Linked DNA regions of Homo sapiens: regions 1 and 2 are each linked to region 3. Evidence: promoter capture Hi-C in human tissues and cell types (Jung and others, 2019). All regions are on one chromosome and are shown on one strand. Each heading gives the region's core, a stretch centred on a gene start or on the middle of the fragment in contact. The rest is flanking DNA. Distances are from core to core; before and after follow the strand shown. Region 1 has its middle 11 kb from the start of NTPCR. Region 2 has its middle 27 kb from the start of SIPA1L2. Region 3 holds the start of MAP10 (microtubule associated protein 10).

Region 1 (4,738 bases), core at 36-2,535, 140 kb before region 3:
ACAGCGATGCAGGCTGTATCCATTCACTCATCCATCCATCCATGCACAAGCATTTACATACACCGTCACAAAGCATTGCTTCGCAACAGGGATACATTCTGAAAAATGTGTCCTTTGGTGATTTTGTTGCTGTGCAAACATGGTAGAGTCTATTTGTACAAACCTAGGTGTTATAGCCTATTACACCTATGGATGTAATAGACTATAGGGTATAGCCTATTGCTAGGCCACAGGGTACAGGATATAGGCTATGCCTATTGCTCCTGGGCTACAAACTTGCACAGCATGTTACTGTACTGAATACTATGGGCAATTATAGCACAATGTTAAGTATTTGTATATCTAAATATATTTAAATACAAAAAGATATGCCAAAAACACAGTATGGTGATCTTTTTTAAAAAAAAACTAGAGACAGGGTCTCACCATGCTGCCTAGGCTGGTCTTGAACTCCTGGGCTCAAGAGATCCTCCCATCTCAGCCTCCCAAAGTGCTGGGGTTACAGGCATGAGCCACCATGCCCAATCACCCTTGTATATGTAGTCTGTCATTGGCCAAAATGCCATTATGCAGTACATGACTATATGCGTGTGTGTGTGTGTATGTGTTTGACATTTGCTTCAAACCCAGGAATTTGAGCACCAGAATCTTTTCTCTCATCCTCTACACTGTACTTCTGTTCATGGTTGCAGCTTTTTAACTTTTGTCCAGAAAACTAATTGAGGGCAATATCACAAAACAAGAAGGGTCACACAAGGACTGCAGACATGGTCCACTGGTTGCTCTTCCTTCTTCTAGGAGAACGAATTATATCATGGTGTGATAAGAGTTCTAAAATAGTTCTTATAATAGCTATGAGAACAGAAATAATGGAGGACCCTCTCTGCCTGATTTTAATCTCATTCTCCCCAGGACTTTCTAGAATAATGATTACTATCACATATGTCCTCATACGCAAGCCAACTTCAAGAATACTGGGTCAATCTGTAATCGAGGGGGCTAAGCAGGCTCACCATCTCACCCCCAAGTCACTTTGGGTGTGAGGCTGCAGGTCCTTGGAGGGAGCCTGTCATTGTCCTTGCGCTGAAGCCGAATCTGCTACATCATGAAGTATCCGTCTTCAGATGTAGGTGTAAACTCAATGGTATTTATTCAAGGTGCATTGTCTTGCCCTGTAAATCCTCTGCAGGGGAAACTAATTGCTTTTTAACTTGGTCAGACTGCATCATCACCAACATTGTTTGCAGAGTGCTGTGAGGGGAAAGTGGGCTGTGGTTTTAATTAGCTGTGTGCATCCCCACAGCAACATTGGCACCCCACACAGCCTCACTTGCCCTCTCGTATATTCCTGGTTAAGGGAATGGTTTCAGCTCCATCTGCCCAACAAGTGGATAAAGGCTTTGTGACTGAAAATTAAGGGAGAACTTTAGGAATCATTTCTTTTTCCTTTTATTGTATATCATCAGTCTTCCCAGAGGGGGCAATGTGCACTGACTCTTCTCCTGGGTTGAATTTCATCATCCCCTCTTAACACCATGTGTGGGCTCAAAACCTGTGGTGTGGATATGTGAAACATTGATTTGCATCTAACTAATAAATAACTTGTGGCATTTTAGGGCAGGTTCACTGCTAGTGAAACAGGGATTCTAGATTTTTCATTTCTATCACCCCAGTGTGGACAGATAGATAGAAATCAAGTGTCTGTCACTTATTTAATGACCTGTCCCATCGTGAGATCCCAACCTCCTGACCCCTCACCTTATTTCATAAGCAGAGTCCAAGCTGAGGCAAGAGTAGCATAAAGCTTTGCTGGGAAAAGAAGATAACTGGTGCCTCACCCTGTTCACTGCCCCACGAACCCTTACATTTGAAGATCTAAGGATAGTTGGCTGCTGGGTGTCGTGCTTGGAAGCAGTCTAGCAAGGTGCTAAGAATGTCTCCATACAACCTTAGTGCACGAGAATAGAGGTGATGGCATTGTTGTATGGGAGCAATAGGCCAATCTTTGACTTTCCTAGAGCTCCTGCTCCATATGGGGGAGATGCAAACTATTCTCATATGCCCAAGGGGACCACACTCCTCTCTGTCACAGGGCCTTTGCACATGCTGTTTCTGCCACTTTAAAGGCTCTCTCCCATATCATCTTCCCCTAGCTAACATGTATTTATCATTCCTGACCCCCTAGAACACACCAAGTGTTTCATAGTGAACAGGTCTGTGCAAACCTACCCCTAAAGGCCAAGGGAGCTGAGAAGCCAAAGAAAGAGGCTGACAAATCCAGTTTCCCATCAAGAAGCATTTACTAGGGACTTAGGAACAGAAACCTTGTCTTAGGTGGCTGCAAGATGTGATGGTGGATCCCTGCATGTTACTGCCAGACCCAGGGCTTGTATAGCATAAGGAATTTGCCTAAGGACAGGATTTATGGTAAATATGTGTTTACAGTAACATCAAGGTTGTTTTGACCTAAGAGCAGCATTCACAGTAAGTAGGTGGAAGTAGAAACCTTTTTTTTTTTTTTTTTTTGAGACGGAGTTTCGCTCTGTCGCCCAGGCTGGAGTGCAGTGGCGTGATCTCGGCTCACTGCAAGCTCTGCCTCCCGGGTTCACACCATTCTCCTGCCTCAGCCTCCCGAGTAGCTGGGACTACAGGCACCCGCCACCACGCCCGGCTAATTTTTTGTATTTTTAGTAGAGACGGGGTTTCACCGTGTTAGCCGGGATGGTCTCGATCTCCTGACCTTGTGATCCGCCCGCTTCCGCCTCCCAAAGTGCTGGGATTACAGGCTTGAGCCACCGCGCCCGGCAGGAAGTAGAAATCTTAGAGGTATTCCTGGAATGAGTGTTAATCAGAAGTCAACATGGCGGATGGATGAACATCCAAGATGGAGCTGCTTTTGCCTCCACACCAAGCGTCCTGTAGCCTCCTGAACTTCTAGTTCATTTCACTTATGATTGTAATTGAATGATGAGTTGTTTAAATTTATTTAATGACTTCCACTTCTGCTAAAATGAAAAAACCTTCATGAGAGAGGAACTAAATGAGGTTTATTCACTACTCAATTCCCAGTATCTAGATGTTCAATTAATGCTTGCTAATTAAATGAATTTCTAAACTCCGTAGTTCATTTTTCAGTGGAACATTTTTGAACTCCTCCTTTGTGTTAAAGGTCTTTGGGGGAAAAAATTACAAACGTATAGTAGCAGTCTACTGCACACACTAGCACTCTGAACAGATAGAATTGCAGTGTCAACAATCATACCGATCACCTCTAGTAAGTACAGAGTGCTTATTAGGCATTTTTGGGTAATAAAAGACGTATACAACAGGGTCTTTGCCCTAAAAATACTTATAATCTAATTTTAAAAACACATCAATGCACATAACACAATTAGTTAATGATACAAGTAAAATCTGTATAAAAATCAACACTATGGATACCTCACACCCACTAGGGTGGCTACTATCAAAACAAACAAACAAAACCCAGAAAATAACAAGTGTTGATGAGGATACGGAGCAATTAGGACCCTTGTGCACTGAGTTAGATCTGCTTAAGGTTCATACATTGCAAGTTGGTGATGCATTTTGTATCCCGTTAATATAAAAGACCTCCTTCATCTGATCTTTTTTCCTTAGTTTCTTTGTTAAAGAAACCAGTGGTTTGTCCTGTACGGTTTTCACAGCAGATACGAACACACAGTTTTTGGTGTTTATATCACCACGGCATTGTTTAGCTTCTCCCTCTGTTCCTGTATTCCTTCTAAATTGACCCAGTGACCTGCTGGTGAGCCTAAGTGCTTGTTGCCTCTCCCTGATGTGTCGAGATACAAGTGAGGCTTGTAGAGTTTCATCATCCTCAAGTAGCAGCTTCTCCTTCTCTTATCATCATTATCAAAAAACTGAAAGTTTATCAGGCTCACTTCCTACATGCCACACACTGTGCTGAGCATGTACACATATTGTCTCATTCAACATTTCACAATAGTCTTATGAAATATCATAGTACAAATTTAACATTCATTTTAGCCGCCAAGCATCTAAACTCTTTCCTATGTTTGGGGAATTGCCCACCTTATGAATAGGAGACAGAGTTTGCCTCTTTCTGTGCCAGATAGCACATGTCCAGCCAGAGCAGAGAGACAAAGGGAGCCAAGTTCCTTGTAATTGTTTGAGCCACCGAATTACTCTCACCCAAAGCCAGCCCTGCCTCGGGGCATATGAAATTATAAAGTCTCAGTATCGTTAGAGTCCTTGGCAATCAGAAAAAAAGTCTAACTGATAGGATGGAAAGATGCTTATGAAATAATGTGGAGTACACGAAACAGCATAGGATATTACATGTGCAATGTAATTACAAGTGTATAAAAATAAAATTTAAAACAGCTGCATAAAATAATCAGAAAAAAGTCATCAGAAAGAGTAATGGTCATGTGGGTGAATTGTGGGAAAATGAGTTAAATTTCATCACAATACTTTTCTGTATGTAGTGTCTTCCAAATTATAAATAACATTTTTGAAAATATGCACATATACACCCCCACTTCTACGCACACACACACAAACACATTATGTTGTGGGATTCAGGCATGGCCAGGAATAAGGACACTCATGCCCTACACATGCATTGTATCGGGTGAAGGAAGGACATCTTCTGGCCTGTTCTAATGCATAACTTGATTTGATTTCATTTCCCTATGTGACTACCGAGTGCTTTGCTGAAATTCAAATGTATCGA
Region 2 (4,602 bases), core at 600-3,099, 150 kb after region 3:
TTGGTTTCGCAGTTAACACTAAGATATGTGGGGCAGAGATCTTGAAATATAGGACTATAGGAATTTATTGTGTTTTCAATAAACCGGCAACTTGAACTAAGAAAAGTACATCAAGGGCAGAGAAAATGCATAAATACAAGACAAAACAATTCTATATACATAAATGGCAGGAAAAGATTGAGGGGCTACAGTAGATAAGGAGCTGATGTCCTATCAGTAGGATAAAAAGGCTGAGTGCATCCCAAGTAGGAACCATAAAGTACTGCATCAGAACGGGACCTGAATCCATACTAACAGAATTCTGAGTCCCAGAAAAAAATGAGCTAGAGTAATTGGAGAGAGTGTACAGCATACCTCCAAACACAGTTTTAAGGAACAGTTAAAGTTTTGGCAGTATTCCGTTTCTAAAAGAAATGGCTGAGAAGTGATACTACAGGCTTCGTGAAAACAAAAGCCATTAATTATATGGTAAATTTTCCATCTTCACTGAGATGCAAAGAAAGCCACAGGGACTGAAGCTATAATATAAGAATTTATGTATTGTGCCTTTGGAATGTTATCAAACACTTTCCATTTTAGTTCCTTCTCTGAACTTGTTTAATTCAGTCCAGGAAAACTGAGATGTGATCCTGCCGAGAGCTAGAGTGGTCAAGATGATTTTCCCTGGTCCTTTCTAGATCAACGTTTGCATACCATTTTCATAGGCCTTAGGACCTTTAATTCTCAAGATATCTCCACTGTGTAGGAATTATTAGTCCCTGGTTACAGATGTGTATGCCAAATCTCAGAGAGATGAAATTTCCCCTCTGACCTTGAACTCAGATTTACCAACTGCAATTCTCATGCATTTTCAATGATGTCTTGCTGCCTACAGTTACAAGAAAATAAATGTGTCTCTTTCTCTTGTTATAAATCCTTGCAAAGAAGAGATGAACTGTGATGTGTTTCGTAAGAGAAATTGTCCCCCTAGGCTTCTTTCTCTAAGGCAGAGATCAAGATAGCATAAGCAAGTGTGCAGCCCTCAGGTTTAGGGGAAGGGCTGGTGGATGAGAGGCTTTGGAAAATTATCTAGTTCATTTTCTTCTTCTTTTCTTCAGCACAGTCTACTTCTGGATCAATCATATTATCTATTTATGGAGGACATTTAGGTGTGAGATACATAGTACCTATATCTTCCTGAAGGCTGTCTTCAGCTTCTCAATTTGGGCTGCTGTGTGTGTGTGTGTTTTTTTCCTTCATGTCTAAAGTTTAAGAGCTCAGATTTTGTCTTACTGTGTAGCATAAAGATGCTGAGTCTGATACCAACTGCCTCCATGTCACATGGCCAAGCAAATGTCACCATGATTTGTTCACTTGGAATTGATCTGAAGATATTGCAATAGGTCTTTTAAAATTGTTTCCATAATTATTTTTATGTAGAATTCAAAGTTGTCTGTTATCTATTGTGAGGAAAAATCAGTTAAAAAGAAGGATTTCATTTTTGGCAGGGAAAGCAATACAACTGGAAGTGCAATTTCATCACATTCCTGGAGAGATTATATGGTGGCCATTTCCCAATCAGCAATACAGAGGGGAATTTATTTTCTATTCAAAGCTTTCCTTTCTAATGCATATATTACAAACATTCTAAATTAAGAACAGGATCCTCTTTTGAAACCAAGAGAGTTTAGAACCAATGTCTTGCATCATTTCTCCTGAAACAGAACCTCTTCTGAATGTGTATATTGTACTGCGAGCCTCGATGTCTGCTTGCCCTCATCTGCACCTGGACTGTAGCTACTGTGAATGATGATCCTTCGAACACTGTGATCCTGGGGAGCCCTTAGAAGTGGGCTCCTGCTTCTAAGTTTACAGCAGCTTCTTTGCACTAAGAATTTATTCCCTGGGCCATCCTTTATTCTGCATTTGGGCTTAGTCTCTAGTAAGTACATAGTAGTTACCTAGTAATTTAGATTGGTGATTGACTTATCCCAATATAATATGGATCTGTACATTGCGGCTGCAAGTTTATGGGGGAAAAATGAATCACTGATTTTTTTTTTCATTTCTCCCAACTCTGAGCATCAACAATGCTTCATAGAATTTTTTTTAGGAACAGAAAATAAGCATAAATTGATTATCTTTCCCTCAGTCTTTCCTAGTTTGGGGTCAAATAAAAGACTTGCTTTTAATTTTATCTGTAGGATGTTTTTCCGTAATAATATGGATATCTCTTAGAAATGCCATAGTTCATTTGCTTGGTGGAAGCTGGTTCAATAACACCATTATATATTTATGTGGTTTTGTGGGGAAGTAAAGATCAATAGAGGTCTTTCCAGCCATGTGACTATAATGATGGTTTTCTTTTCCTGCTCTATTTATTATTTATTAAATACCTCGTTGTGAACAACACTGTCCTAGGTCTTGAATGTGATTGAATAAGAGGACTGTAGACGGGCCCAATTCGGTGTACTGATATCATTCTGAAACTTTGGATTTTATTGAAATGTGTTTAAAATTATAGAAGACATGCTTGTGGCAAACACTTTATCAGTCACTATCACGTTTCAAGATAACATTGAACCGCAAATTCAATGCAATGTGTATCTATATTCTTTGGAAATGTACCAAATTTAACTAGAAACATTCAACATTTTCTGAAGTCCTTGTGAAAAAGCACCTAGGCAGAGAAATGCTAAATGACCAAGACTAAGCTAAAGTATATCTATTTCATTGGGTCTACCCTTTCATAAACTGTGAACATTAGATATGTTTAGTGCGGATATTTTCCCAAAAAGCAAAAAGGAGAGAACTGCATTTTTACAAAATGTAAGAGAAGAAATGACATAGGGGTGGGTCTTGAATGTGCAGGTCAGAAAGCTGAGAGTCTTGTCTCAAGCATGGGAACTGTGACATGGATAAATTACTCATGGCGGTTGGGCACAGTGGCTCACACCTGCAATCCCAGCACTTTGGGAGGCTGAGGCAGGCAGATCACTTGAACCCAGGAGTTGGAGACCAGCCTGGGGAACATGATGAAATCCCATCTCTACAAAAAATACAAAAATTATCTGGGTGTGGTGGCTCATGCCTGTAGTCACAGCTACTTGTGGGGCTGAGGTGGGGGGATCACCTGAGTCCAGGAGGTCAAGGCTGCAGTGAGCCATGATCAAGCAACTGTACTCCAGCCTCGGCACCAGAATGAGACCCTGTCTCAAAAAAAAAAAAAAAAAAAATCACTCTTGGAGTCTGCCAGGATTCAGAGAACTAGACAGAGAATTTCAAAAATGGAAGAATTTCTTGAATTGGCCCCGGGCTCTTTACCACGAGTTAATGTCATCTTCCTCCTGGTAAGTGTTTGACCTGGGGAAGGAGAAATGTATAAAGCTGGTTTGAGTTCCAGTTTTCACCAGACACTGCGGAGTCTCTTGCAGCCCTGGCTTCTCTCTGGCTGGTGTGTTCTCTCCTGCACCATCCTGCCCTCAGCTTTCTTTTCACCTGTTCTTTGAGAGAAAAGAGGCTGAACTTCTGACTTTGTCCTTGCTGAGATGATAAAGACTAATGAATGCCTTTGAAGCCATTCACAGCATGGTAGCCTGAGGTCTTGAAGGGTTCATTTCCTCTCTTGTGGCTATGTGGTTTCGAAGTTTCATGAAGGACCGTAGTAAATAAAACATGACATATGATCAGACCTCAAAGTGGACAGAAACTAAAGCTGTATTTACACATTGTATCAGTGCTGGGAAAGGAAGGTAAGGAAGGGGAGGGAAGACAGGTTCACGTAGATGATCTCATCAGTCATTTATTCCCTAAGTGGAGGTGAGCCCTGCTGATTCTGAGATTATTCTTCTCTGGTGATGGCTTTCCTAGTGACAGGGACATGTCCAGCCTGTCACCGATTACCCATGGAGATGAGGCAGCGTCCCTCTGGTGCTATCTCTTTTCCCTCTAAGGGGCTCTTCCAGGTGCCTTTGTTGCCATGGTTGCTCCTGAGCACACACAAGATGCTAAAAATAAATTCCAAGTGAAACTTTCCAGCTGCCTGGTAAAAGAGTTTTCTGCTCTCTTTATATTTACATCCAATTGGCTTACAGTTGATATGCTCTGAGAAGCTGGATCAAATACAGATGCCATGCCCAGAATCAGCAGATGGGCTGGGGGTGGAGAGAAATTGTATAGGTTAAAGACTGCCAGGGGAGTCAAAAGCCTCCACTCCATGACCTTGCCTAACCATGTGCCTTTGAGAAAATGGTGTCATTTCTCAGGGTGTCAGTTTCTTTACTGGGAACTGCAGTGAGTATCAGAAGAACATTCTCATTTTAAAAGTGCACTTATGAGTTCTGATTTTGAATCTAAAACATTTCTGCATACTAGACCTCACTCCTGTATCAACTCTGTAAACTTTGGCAGCCAATCACTATTGTCCCAAATTATCATCTAAGAGAACTTAAAAAGTATGCCTCATGTGACTTGATGCCATCATTCATATGACAAAAGTCACACACAGACACACAGATGATGGTTGTGTTCGTTTTCCCATTCATGCACTATTTTCCTCATCCAGTAAATTATGACTGTGTTTTTTTAAGTCATCAGATTTCTTTTTTAATACAGCCAGCATTG
Region 3 (4,855 bases), core at 2,345-4,844:
GCAAAACAGAAATATTACAGTCAAATATATTTCCAATAAGGATTTTCTGCAGGTTTATTTTAGGGAATCTGCTTATTTTTGCTGCTTAATTCTAAACCCTCCCATTAGGTATTTTAAATGCCTGGGCTTCGTTTTTTTCAACAAATGTTTTTATTGCACTGCAGCCACATGCCAGGAATTGTGCTAGATACAAAAATGCACTGATGTGTAAAACAAATATGATCCCATCACACAACTGAAGCCTAGTGGAAGATAAACTTTAATCAAGTAATCACACAAATTGTGGCTTATAAACAAAAGGTGCAGGGCACTATGAGAGCATATAAAAGCAACTTCACCTATTGGGGATATGGGATATGTATATGTCAAGGAAGACTTCTTATCTACATACAACTGTAAGCTTTTAAAACAGCAGGGCTCTATCATAAATAGATTCTGCACCTTTCTGCATCTAACACAGTAAGTCTTCTATATTTGTTAAATAATTTGTTCCAATTAAAATTTGAGGCTGTCCTTACTAACTAGCCTTCTTTTTCAGTGGTGTGCATGAAGTCAGCTTTAGAATGATCAATACTGTAGACTAGACACTTTAAGAGAGACAATTTAGAAAGACACACTTTTATTCTTATGATTAAACAATTTAAAAAGAAATCTGTTTATATGATTTAATAATCAATATTATCAGATTTAATGGTAAAATACCATTTAAACATCAAAGGAATAACGTTAATTCATATTTCTTTAAAAAATTATTCACATAATTCATGAACTAAAACAGCTTTAAAATTTTTTTCACTAACAGTACACATAGGTCCTTGAAAGTTTTTTAAAAGCATGTATTTTTACATTGTGTATCCTGGAAGTTTATTTATTACTAATTCACAAATATCTTTGCATTGCTTGGAAATATTTAGTGAACCAACATCATCATTGCCTTCTTCAAAGTGATCTGATGTACTGCTATCCAGGACATTAAGTTCGGACACATTTGAAGGCAGGTAAGAACTCACCTGGGATGTTTGTGGTGACTGGCTTTTTTCTAAAGATTTCCAACTACTTCTTGTTTTAACAGAGATGTCTTGAGCTCTCTTTGTAATTTCAGAATTGTGCATACTATTTTGATCTATCTGGTTTTCTTTTTGTTCAGTCCAATGTGTTGAAGATAAATCACTAGCAGAGATACTAGATGCTTCCTCCAAACTTTTATCCTGAGTCTTTGAAATATGAAATTTTCTGTATGAGTGTACAGGTGACCCGGCTGAAAAAGGTGGGCTAAGGATAGAACTCCTGTCACTACTATTTTTCTTTTTGGACACTCCTGTGTCACTAGACTTGCTTGTATATTGACTATGTTTTGGATTTTCTGTCCTTGAACTGCTATCATGAGCTTTGAAACTTCTGCTGGTGTCCTCACTGGTACAGAAATCTTCAGAATAGCAAGGGCTAGACAAATCATCTGAATACTTCAGTTCTGAGATGTTTTCATAGCAACTATTTTTACCTGTTCTCTTGTCACTTATATCAGCCATAAGAATGTCATTATCTGTGGTTTTGACCTGTCTAATATCTATTTCCTTATCTACAATTCTGTCAACAACAGCATCCTGTTGGAAAACACATGGACTTTGGATTTTCATTTCCACATTTCCTCCCAGAATATTTGTAGGGGTAAGCCTTTCTGGAATAATGGAATTTGCAGGACTCACAACTTCTTCCAATGAAACATTATTGATTCTATTTTTACTACAATCAACTGTCTTTTTTTCAGTTGCATATTTCAGTTTAGTTTCTTTACTTGTGCTGGGCTCATCAAAAACTCCACTGATTTGTCTTGAGGTATCACTATTTTCAGTGAAAGATGCATCTGAATCTAAATACTTATCTTCAGGCAGTTGTGGCTTCTGACTTTGTTCTGCAGAGCTTAATAGTTTAACTTTGGATGACGGAATTCTGAATTTTGTACCCAACATTTGTGATTGTCTTTTTCTATATAGTTCTCTTTTTTCATGTACCACCAACATATCAGGATTTGTCAGCTTTAAACGTAGTCTTAGTGTATTTGTTAAGCCATAAAGTAGCCTCCCTTTTGGAACTCTTTTATGGAGGGCACCACTGCTCTTTTCAGAATATTTATCTTCCTTATAGTTTTCAATTTGGTTCTTTTTATACTGAAGACTCACTGACTTTTCACATCCCCCCACAGAACGCTTATCCTTCTTGGCTTCAGACCGGCATGTGGATTTGGCAGAAGATTCGGGTGACTTCTTATCCTCAGTCCTATATAACCAGGCTAGGTGAGGATGTATATGAGCAGGACTTGTCACAGGTTGGTCATATAACAAGGACAACTCAACTAACAAAGCATTTAACAAAGGCAACTGCCTTATTGTATTAATTCGATTTTGTTCAGTTTGACATGTTTGATTAGTTGCTCCTATATTCTGAATATGTGGAGGATTTACAAGCATTGGAGGATGTTCGTGTGCTGCAGAACTTGGATGCTTTAGACAACTCCTGTGTGCTGGGGGATTTACACGCTTTTTTTCAGGAGAAGCATCATCCATTTCCTCAGGTGCATTCATTTGAGGCTCAATGGTGATTTTAGCCTGTGCAGGGGGCGGTTTTTCTTGGGTCAAGTTAGTGTAATACAAAGGAGGAGGGCAAAATATATTGGTCTCCATGTCCAATTCTGTGACTTCCTCATTTAGGGAGCTAACATTTCTCCCATTGCCAGCACCTGAACATGTAACAACAGAATTGGTTTTGCCATTCTCCACAGAACCCACATTATCACATTCGGCCTTACTTTTAACCATTTCCTTCAAATCCTTCTGTGCCTCTGGGATTTCTAACTCCCCCAGCGGCTTATCAGCCTCTTTTGGGCTTGGCTGTGAGGCTGGCTGCTGCAGCTGCTGTCTTTCCTGCTGGGTTTGGGGACTGACCTCCGCTCCTCCTCCTGTGCGGGTGAAGGTGAGGGGCCGCTCAAGTTGGCTCAGCAGGCGGCTTCCCAGGTCAGTCAGGCGGTAGGCCAGTGCAATGTCCCCAGTCCGCTCGCCCACTCGATTATGCAGGGGGAAACGTCCCCGGTGACGGTGGGAGCATCCGGAGGCGGCCGGCCCCACGACCCTGTGCGCTGCGGTGGCCAGCGAAATGTCGCAGGCCCCCAGGAGCTGTGGGGTGGGCGTCGGGCGCCCAGGGGGCAGCTGCAGCAGCAAGGTGGCAAGCGGGGTCCGCAGGAGCCGGCAGTGCAGGGTAGCAGGCTGCAGGCGGAAGAGGCAGGACTTGCCGCGACCGAAGCGGATGACACCGGGCCACGGTTCGGCGGCGGGAGCGCCGGGGCCGTCAGGAGGGTAAACCAACAGCGTGGGGAAGTCCAGCAGGCGGAAGGCCACGGCGGGGCACAGACCGCGCGGCGACGAGGCCTCCCCCTGCTCCTTTTCCTCCTCTTCCTCCTCCTGCTCCACTGCGGCAGCGGGGGACGGCAGCAGCCGGGCTTCCAAACGCACCCAGTCCACCAGCAGCTCCAGCGAGAAGAGCCGCTCGGACAGCGAGGCCGCCATTGCTGTTGCCCCAGGAAACGCCGCCGCGGGCTCCGCAAACGAGAAGCTGAAGCCCCGGGGTCTCACGAGAAACCGGAGCAAAAGGCATCGCTGCCTGCTATCTCGCGAGATTTGCGGAAGCGCTCCAGCGGGTCTCGGGCGGTGTCTGCTTTGGGGGTTTTGCTGCTCAATGTGTTTGGCCCCTTTGTATGCATACTTGTGAGCCGTTTTTTGCCACCAACCTTGTATTAAGACAATTGATGATAATGCTGAGGATATAAGTGGTAAAAGACAGTGAGTTTTTTGGGTAATGGTTTTATCACTGCAGATCTTATGTAACTTGGGGGTCAGATCAATATACCTGAGGAATATTGAAAGAAAATCAGGACTCTCCTTCCTTTCCCATGCTAAACAGAGCCAGTTAGTTAACTGTCCACAGTGGGCCATCTCTGTGTCTGCTGTTCTACCCAAAAGATGGTGACACTGCTGGGATGGCCAGGGAGCCCCTGCCTCATCAATTACAGTAGTACTGAGACAGACACACCACACACACACGGAGTGTGAATACACTGGCAAAAACTCTCCTTGGCTGAACTTTGGTCAGGCTCATCTAAGCCTTCTTTCCGACTAGGCCTTGACCTTGGCTTCCAATCCTGTGGACCCTGGATCACCGAGTTGTAGCAAAGGTCTCGCTACGGCTGTTGAGAGAGAACCCCCAACCCTTCATACCTGATTACCGTCGATACCTGATCAAATTCTTCATTTTCTATCATTGGTATCTGACCACCCTGGCCTGGCTTCAGCAAGAATCCTATTAGGCCTGCTTAATCAGAACCCTCCCACCCGTGATGTTCCCTATCAGTAAGTTTCCATCCACTTGACCTGACGCCCCCTTGGCTTTAAATCCCCACTTGTCCATGCTGTAATTGGAATTGAGCCCAGCTCTGTATTGAGGTCTCTTTTCTCTTATTGCAGTAGTTCCTGACTACAGTGTTTTTGCCACTTCAACTACTGTCTGGCCCTGTTTTTTATTTGACAACATTTCCAGCTAAGCAATCATGATGCATGAGAGTAATGTTAATGATTCCATCAATAAAACAAATGTGTGTACATAAATATACACACATCTACAGAGACACACAGAACTTGCTGCTCTATCCAGATATTTTAAGAAACATACTCCTAACCTCAATGAGCTAGCCAGCTAGGAATCCAAGGCCAGTTTTTGGAGAGCCTTGAATGCCATGGTAAAGAATTTGGACTATATTCTGTCCAAATTTTTTTGATTGAATAAGTACATCATAGCAATATTTGGA

Evidence for each region. The method cuts DNA at HindIII sites, captures the fragments that hold promoters and counts their contacts. A contact is called where the count stands out against the background at its distance.
Region 1: a contact is called between a fragment that was not itself captured here and the fragment with the promoter of MAP10 in region 3, in 1 of the 25 tissues and cell types used here (heart left ventricle).
Region 2: a contact is called between a fragment that was not itself captured here and the fragment with the promoter of MAP10 in region 3, in 1 of the 25 tissues and cell types used here (small bowel).

The regions. Positions count from the first base shown.
Region 1 is chr1:232,937,290-232,942,027 of GRCh38, reverse strand. No RefSeq gene overlaps it. Among named protein-coding and RNA genes, the nearest start is that of NTPCR, 11 kb to the left of the region's middle. The HindIII fragment of the contact is 4,223 bases long and covers 1-3,396 here.
Region 2 is chr1:232,654,630-232,659,231 of GRCh38, reverse strand. No RefSeq gene overlaps it. Among named protein-coding and RNA genes, the nearest start is that of SIPA1L2, 27 kb to the right of the region's middle. The HindIII fragment of the contact is 3,190 bases long and covers 255-3,444 here.
Region 3 is chr1:232,804,155-232,809,009 of GRCh38, reverse strand. MAP10 (microtubule associated protein 10) reads right to left here and starts at 3,594. Exons shown (of 1, transcript NM_019090.3): 1 at 1-3,594. The coding sequence starts at 3,560. The coding sequence ends at 843. RefSeq lists enhancers at 2,605-3,201, 3,411-3,490, 3,202-3,799. The HindIII fragment of the contact is 7,984 bases long and covers 1-4,855 here.